2 separate regions of the Homo sapiens genome follow, and region 1 is linked to region 2. Evidence: promoter capture Hi-C in 16 types of primary human blood cells and fetal thymus (Javierre and others, 2016). All regions are on one chromosome and are shown on one strand. The core of a region is centred on a gene start or on the middle of the fragment in contact, and the rest is flanking DNA. Distances in the headings are between cores, read along the strand shown.

Region 1 (4,028 bases), core at 1,211-3,710, 9.0 Mb before region 2:
CAAATCATATTTGTATAAGCCCAACAATATGAGAAAACTCCTTACATCAATATTTATAGAGATGGATCACATATTTTTGTAATTCCTGACTTACTAGTTAGGATTTTAGTTTTTTGTAAGCTGACATTCTTTCCTCTAACATAAACATGGTTTTCCTTAACAAGTGTTTTATTCTAGAAATGGTCTCGTTAGATTTTTCTGTAAATGTGTTTCGGGTTAATTAATTCGGCAGGGTTTTGTTTTGTTTAGAGATGGGGTCTTGCTTTGTTGCCCAGGCTAGAGTGTAGTGGCACAATCACAGCTCACTGCAGCCTTGACCTCCTGGGCTCTGCGATCCTCTTGCCGTAGCCTCTGGAGTAGCTGGGACTACTATAGGGCTTCACCGGGTAATTCCGAGTACCTGCATGTAGCCAATACAGTTCTGGGAACTTGCGGCTGTAGTAGTACATAAAACACACAATATCATTACCCTCTTGGAGGCCAGGCGCAGTGGCTCACGCCTATAAGCCCAGCACTGTGGGAGGCCGAGGCTGGTGGACCACTTGCTGTCAGAAGTTCAAAACCAGCCTGACGAAACCCCATTTCTAGTAAAAGTTCCAGATCAACATGGTGAAAGCCCCTCTCTACTAAAAATACAAAAATTAGCGGCGTGGTGGCAGGCGCCTGTAATATCAGCTACTGGGGAGGCTGAGGCAGGAGAATCGCTTGAATCTGGGAGGCGGAGGTTTCAGTGAGCCGAAATTGCACCACTGTACTCCAGCCTTGGGCAACAGAGCGAGACTCTGTCTCAAAAATAAAAAATAAAAAAAAAAGATTACCCTCTCGTAATTTTTCATGCTATTAAGGGAAGAGACAATAAAAAAAATAAGTAAATATTCATTACGCCAGATAGTGATAAATTCTTTGGAGAAAAACAAAGCAGGGTAAGGGAATGGAGAATTTTGGGGGGCTTGCAATTTTCATTAGGGTGGCAATTTTCCTTTTCACGGAAAAGGAGGTGTGTGATAAAGCTGGAAGGAGGTGAGCGAGCATCAGACATGGAATATAAGGATGCAGAGGGTGAGGGGGTAGGGAAAGCATTTTAGGGAGAGGGTACTGCAAGCACGAAGGCCATGAGGCAAAAACCTGTGCTCGGCAATTTGTCTTGGCCACAAAAGCTTTATCCCAGTCGTCAGTCCATTAAACCCTGTAGCTTTAAGTGTTGTGAGATCACAATCTTTATTTTTTAACTTGTGATGGTTCTGGACGGCAATTGCTGTTTCCTGCAATCTGTGGATGAATGAATGAGCAAAGCAGTTAGCAGCGGGATGAGTACAGGGGAGCAGCTCCACACCTGACACCTTATCCAAGTTCCCCCAGACCCTTGGCGCCCTGGTTCCCCCAGAACTTCGTTTGCATTCGTCTTTAAATGTCTTCTCAGTTTGCCTTGGGTCAGTTATTTGTATACCGATTAGACCTGTGCCGCCCACTGCGGTAGCAGCTAGTAGGAATTGGATGTGCTTTAAGTGTAAATACCAGATTTCCAAGACTTGCTGCAAAAACTGTAAAACATTCCACTAACGATTTTGCAATACTGCCTACATGCTGAAATAATTTGACTTTATTGGGTTGAGATATATTACTGTAACTTTCTTTTTTCATTAGAAAAATGTAGCCACTAGCAAATGTGAAGTGTCAGGCGTGTGGCGCGCAGATGCCTCTTTAAACTGGATGGCGCCGGGTTGGCCCTCACTATCAGCGGGCTCCCGACAGGAGGCGCCCCAGCTTGCGGCCGGGGGCAGCGCCTACCAGGCAGTTGGCAGGCAGTTCCAGCCCCGGGCCACGGCACTGCAGGGCCCGAGCCAGGTTACGGCAACCGGGGGCCCTGCAAACAGCTCCCGATTAGGGGGTGCTTTTGGGTGGGAAAGCGCAGGCCCTGGATGGAGGCCCGACCTGCGGCGCTCCAGCTCATCGCCCCGCCTCTTTGCGGCAGAGCTCAGGCCGGCGCAAACCGGTTCAGTGCTAGGACTGACGTCTCGCGCCGCCCAACCGCAGCACGCCCCCGCCTCCCCAGTCCTCTGGAAGAGACAGGGAACGTCTAGCCGCCAGGGTCCCGGGAGGCGGCTCTGTACCAGACGGACTATACTGAGAGCCTATGACAATAGCCGAAGGTGCCGGGGGGGGGGGGGGGGTGGCCTACTACCAATAAAGGAAGGGGAGGGGCGGGCCCTCGTTAGCTTCCCCCCCCTACCACGCTTCCTCGGGCGCGGGTCTACCCAGAGCCTAACGGGCGCGCGAGTGTGGGGGAAGGGCCTGGCGCGGGCTGGAGACTGCGCAGTGCGGTGCCGGCCGGGAGGGGGGGGGGGGGTGACGTAATCTCCGTCCGCGGCCGCGGCGCCCCGCCCCGCGACACCCTCCGCGAACCGCGAGAGCGCAGCGCAGGCGGTCCGCAGCAGCCGCAGCTCGGGGGCGGTGCCTGCCTTGCAGCCTCCCCTCGGCGATCGCGCAGCCCCATCTTTGTCCGGCCTCCGCGCTTTGTTCTCGGCGCCCGGGCCTTGGCCAGCCTGGCCAGCCGCCGAGCAGCCCCCACGCCGCGCTGGCGTCGTCCTCGCCTCCCTCGCCGCCGCCCCCCGCGCGCGGCCGGGCCTTGCCCCCCATGGTGTCCCGGCCAGAGCCCGAGGGCGAGGCCATGGACGCCGAGCTGGCGGTAGCGCCGCCGGGCTGCTCGCACCTGGGCAGCTTCAAGGTGGACAACTGGAAGCAGAACCTGCGGGCCATCTACCAGTGCTTCGTGTGGAGCGGCACGGCTGAGGCCCGCAAGCGCAAGGTGCGCCCGGCAGCCCACCGCGCGGCGGGCTCGGGGCCTTCTGCCGCTCCTGAGGCCGGCCGGCGGAGGGGCCCTTTTCCTGCCCTCTTCCCTTCCCCCGTTGCCTTTCCCTGTCCTTCCTCTTCCTCTCTCCTTCTGCCCTCTCTTCTCTTTACCCCTTCCCCCTCCTTTCCTTCCCCCCTCAACTCTCTCCCTTCCCTTATCTCCTCATCTTCCTATCCTTCCCCTCTCCCCCCTTCCCCCATTCTTCCTTTCCCTCCCCCTCCTCTCTGTCCCCTCCCCCTCCTCTCTGTCCCCTCCCCCTCCTTTCTCTCCGCCCTCCCCCTCCCTTATCCTTCTTGGCCCGGGAGGGGCGAGTGCTTCCGGGCCGGGGGTGGTGTTCTCCTGCCCTGCTGCCTGGGGAGCCTGGGACTTCGGTGGGCGGTCCCGGGCGTTCCTGCGCGAGGTCCTTGCGGGGAACTCTCCTGGTTCTGGAGGGTTCGGGGCTGGATGCGGGTGCAGAGAAAGAAATATTTCAAAAAAATGAGTAAAGGATGGGGGGCTGTCGAGTTCTGGGCGTTGGTCTGCAGCGGTCACCCGCCGCCAGGAGCGACCTTGGACGGGAGCTGGGGCAGGAGGCGGGCTGGGGGGCGCGGGGCCGGAGCTTCGCGGCTGCCTCGGGGCCCGCGAGGAGCTGGAGGTGGAGGGCGGCAGGGGCTGGGGCCGGGGCGAGCCTGTGGGTGCGGAGCCACAGCCCGGGTTTGCGTTGCGGCTGAGGAGTAGACTTGGAAGCGCGCCGTGGGCTGTGGGAGGCCTTAACCAGGAGTGAGTCCCCTCGGGGAGCCCAGTCTTGCGTCCCGCAGTTAGGCTTGGTAAGGGTTTGGAAATCAAAACGTAACGTGATTCTTCTATGTGAATAAAGTTTATTTTTACAGTTTCACGCGCTTTTGTAGATTACAATCCGAGATTGGGAGTTGTGAGGGCAGTTTCCACCTTGAGTGGCATTTTTTTATTTATGGGAATACCAACAGGCTCGCTGAGATTGTAGGGTATGTTAAGCAGTAATTCAAAAAAAAAATTATTTTTTTGAGACGAAGTCTCGCTTTGTACCCCAGGCTGGAGTGCAGTGGCGCGATTTCGGCTCACTACAATCTCCGCCTCCCGGGTTCAGCCGATTCTCCTGCCTCAGCCTCCTGAGTAGCTGGGATTACAGGCTCCTGCTACCACGCCCGGCTAATTTTTG
Region 2 (4,036 bases), core at 1,107-3,606:
TTAGTCCTTCCCTGACCATCCTATATAACTTGCACTCCATCTCTAACAGTACCTCTCCTCCTTACCCCAATGTAATTTTCTTCACAACACCTATAATTACCACTTGTGCACTTATTTATTGTCCAGCTCACCCTACAAAATATAAGTCTTGGGAGGGCTGGGACTTTGTGTGTTTAGTTCATTCTTGCATATATAGCTATTGGAAGAGTGCTGGGCACATCATCTGGTAAATATTTATTGAATGAGTAAGTGAATAATAGAAATAGATGACACCTTTTCATTATTTCCTAAGCTGAGGTAGATATCTCCCTATTTTAAAAAATATTTTGATTGTTCAGCCTGTTTCGAAATAAGTGTTTATGCCTTTTCCTAAGGTGCCAGTTTATAAAGAAATTATTAAACTTCAAAGTGTCATTTTCATATCAGGAACCATCTACCAGGATTAGAGTTCTCAAACTGAGGTTTGTGGGTTCCAAGGATGGGTTTCAAGGCTGTGTTAGCTCCCTGGATTTGAGTGCAAAGTGTTGTATGTAGATGTGTATGTGCATTTTTCTTGGGAAAAATTTTACCTTCCATCAGATTCACAAAGGAGTCAGAACCCAATTAATGGTTTTGAATTACTGTTATCTTCCTTGGGTGTTGATCAGCTAAAAGCGAACACATTGAAGATAAAACTCCTATAATCTTCCCCTCTAAACCACCTTATCTCTTGACTTTCTTAGAAGCAGAGCACATTGATGTTGGAAGCAATACCCAATGAAGGTGTCCCTCTAAATGTGCCTGGTAAATTGTTAGCCATGCTGTCCTCAGGAACTCAAAGCAGCGCCATCAATCACATGAATGTTAGAAACGTCCAGCTAGGTGCCATGGCTCATGCCTGTAATCCCAGCACTTTGGGAGGCCAAGGTGGGTGGATCACTTGAGGTCACGAGTTCGAGACCAGCCTGGCCAACATGGTGAAACCCCGTCTCCACCAAAAATACAAAAAAAAAAAAAAAAAAAAAAAAAGACTAGAAACTTCCACCTATGTCAGGCTGAAACAGTAGTTTCACACATAGGATCTTGTTCAGACCCTGGGACTTAAGAGAACATGTCGAATCCCTTTTCCGCTGGTCACTTTTCAGGTACATGAAGATGTAATCCCATCCCCGCATCAAGCTTTATTTCTCCAGAGGAGGATCTTTAATTCTTGTAAACATGGGACAGGTACAGGACATGTTATGATAATGACAGGTACAGGACATGTTATGATAATGACAGGTACAGGACATGTTATGATAATGACAGGTACAGGACATGTTATGATAATGACAGGTACAGGACATGTTATGATAATGACAGGTACAGGACATGTTATGATAATGACAGCTCTTCTTTAAATTTTTATTTTTTATTTATTTTATTTCCATAGGTTATTGGGGAACATGGCAGCTTTTTTTGAATACCCTCCTCTTTGCCAGTTGCCCAAGGTGGAACACCCAAACTTTGACATGATACTTCCATTAATGCAACTTAGTATCACAAGTTGATGTCGTGGCCCAGCACAGGATGGCCTGGAAACCGGCAACACTGGACGCTGGGGAAAGGGTAAGAAGGTCTTGACCATTACAAATGGTGTGGAACTGAGCCGAGGGAGGGATAGTGAGAAGGGAGAGAGGGTGAGGTGTCTGAGAGACAATGAGGTCAAATCAGAGGATTCAGCCATTGTTGGCGTGTGGGAAAGGGAAGGAGAAGGGAAGAGTCAGGGATGACATTTGTTGAGAGAGAGAGAGAGAAGAGAGAGAGACGCAGGTGGAAAGAGGATGGCACCACATTGGACTAGCCCCAACGGAATGGGGAGAAGTGGGAGAGGACCCAGGGGATGCAGAGCTGATGAGAGTGGGAGAACCAAGACAGAGGAAGAAGGTTGGGGCAAATCAAGTGTCTCAGGGAGGCCCAGTGAGGCAAGAACGGAAAGGAGAAAGGCGGCGGTTAAGAATCAGGGATAATGGCAGAGCGTTGCAGCTCTGCGGGTGGGACTGGGCGGAAGGGTTTGGGAGAGACAAAGAAATGATCTTTGAAGGCCTCGCAGTGCTTGGCCGAGTGCCTGGCACAGAATAGGTGCGCAATAAATGACGGGTGAGAAGTGAAGGAACTCAGGAACAGTGATTAGTGAGTGAGTGACGGAAGGAACGGAGGATGGCGTTGGCTCGGGAACCTCGCTGCCATGTCGGTGGAGGCTCCTGGGCTGCAACGCCAGAGAGAGGCGGGGCGTCCCCGACGGCCAATAGGAGCTTCGGTATCAGCTCCGCCCCCGCCCCCTAGCTCCGCCCGGTGCCGCACGTCGTTCGCCTGCCGCCTGAGGCGCGCGCAGCCACCCAGCTCCCGGAAGTGCGCCCGGAGCCGGCGCCGCGGGCCGAGGTGAGCGCGCTTGCGGGGCGGTCCCGGCCTCCGGCCGCTCGGGGTCAGGCCTTGCGCTATCTGCGTCCGCACCTGACTCAGCTGGGCACCCCGGAGCTACGGAGGGGCCAGCGGGCTCCCTTGCCCATGCGTCTGGGAGCGCGCGGGGGACGTGGCGAGTGCGGGGCCGGGGCAGCCATGGCTGGGAGTGGACCGTGGGTGCGGGGGGATGTGTGAACCCCGTCCCGGCTCTGCATTCCTGCGCCTCTGCGCCCCGCGGGACCGGCCGGGTCTCTGCACTGGGACCGAAAACGGGCTCCTCCCCGCTGTCTTCCCCTAAGGGCTGAAAATGAGTCTCTGGAAGAGGAAACCCGATGGGATGATGCCTGGAGTCTCTCCCTCTCTCATCAGAGTGCAGTCGGCATTTGGGGGGCGCATGGTGGAGAATACATATCCAATGAGCAGCGCTGCCCTGGCCTCGAGCACTAAATGCCAGTTCCCCTAGCTGCTTGTGACAACCAGAAAACGCCCCAACAAATCACCAGACGTTGGCAGTTCTCCCCAAAGCAAAGGCTTTAGAGCTTCCTGGGTTAATCTGGCTGCCACTTGTGAGCCTCGGAGGTTCCTGATCTGTACACCAGGGTAATTGTGGGAATTGGAAATACATGAACCGAGCTTAATAATGAGCCGATACGTAGTAGGTGCTTAACAAATGGTTACTTATATATGTAACCATGTATGTAACCACTTGTGTATATTACACCTAGAATGCACTTTTAAAAATTCATTCTATTTGTTAAAGGTTTAATAACAGGTATAACAGACAACCTTATTTTTTTTTCATAACTAATGGGGGCAGTTCCTCATGAGGTTATCGGAATATAAACTCTATTAAATTTTTAATACTATATAAAGTAATTTAATTTTGAATAATCGAGACATTTTTCTTACACACTACCTGGGAGTATAATATTACTAACAAAAGATTTAAGTATTTTATAAAATCTGTAGTTTTTCCAAAATGTCATTTCTCTTAAATATTATCTAAACTGCTATCTTAATTTAGGAAACAGATAAATTGCAGTAAGTTTACAGGTCGGTATCTTGCTATCTAAAATCTTGCCGCTTGTTATTTGAAACTCTTGAGCCAAATAGGTTGGATTTACAAAGCAAGGTATTTTTAAAAATATATTTATTCGTTTTTTAAGATGTTATTTGAAACTGTAGGTTTACCTCTGAGCTAAAGCTGCTTTTCAGGTGGTTTGATAATGCTGTCATTGTCACTCAGTATGAAAACATATTTTAATTTCCTTTGTGATTTTTTTCTTTGACTATGGGTTAAGAGCATTATTTAGTAATTTCCATAAATTGGGATTTTCTAGTTATTGTTATTGATTTCTACTTTAATTGCACTATGATCAGAGAATATATTTGAACCCAGGAAGCTCTAAAGTTTTCCATTTGACCTTTCTGGTTTTGTTTCTCTTGTGTTCCTTTTCTATCAGATATTGGGTTTTTGAGTGTTTTTTGGTATTGCTTTAATGGCTTTTTAGCAATACCACTTTGCGTAATATTTTTAGAGCTAATTTTAAGATATCAGTCATTTGAAAATTATGCATATGGTCTGTTTTGATGAATACTCTTTGCACTTGTAATG

What was found. The method cuts DNA at HindIII sites, captures the fragments that hold promoters and counts their contacts. A CHiCAGO score of 5 or more calls a contact.
Region 1: a contact is called between the fragment with the promoter of USP22 here and the fragment with the promoter of ZNF18 in region 2, in 1 of 17 cell types (total CD8 T cells). The highest score is 8.8, in total CD8 T cells.

Annotation. Positions count from the first base shown.
Region 1 is chr17:21,041,443-21,045,470 of GRCh38, reverse strand. It overlaps USP22 (ubiquitin specific peptidase 22), which reads left to right and starts at 2,460. Exons shown (of 13, transcript NM_015276.2): 1 at 2,460-2,806. The coding sequence starts at 2,636. RefSeq lists enhancers at 742-1,689, 1,690-2,639 and a silencer at 2,175-2,774. The HindIII fragment of the contact is 4,087 bases long and covers 1,160-4,028 here.
Region 2 is chr17:11,995,795-11,999,830 of GRCh38, reverse strand. It overlaps ZNF18 (zinc finger protein 18), which reads left to right and starts at 2,356. Exons shown (of 7, transcript NM_001303281.2): 1 at 2,356-2,400. RefSeq lists enhancers at 1,788-1,867, 1,938-2,177, 1,292-2,275 and a silencer at 2,208-2,657. The HindIII fragment of the contact is 4,230 bases long and covers 1,161-4,036 here.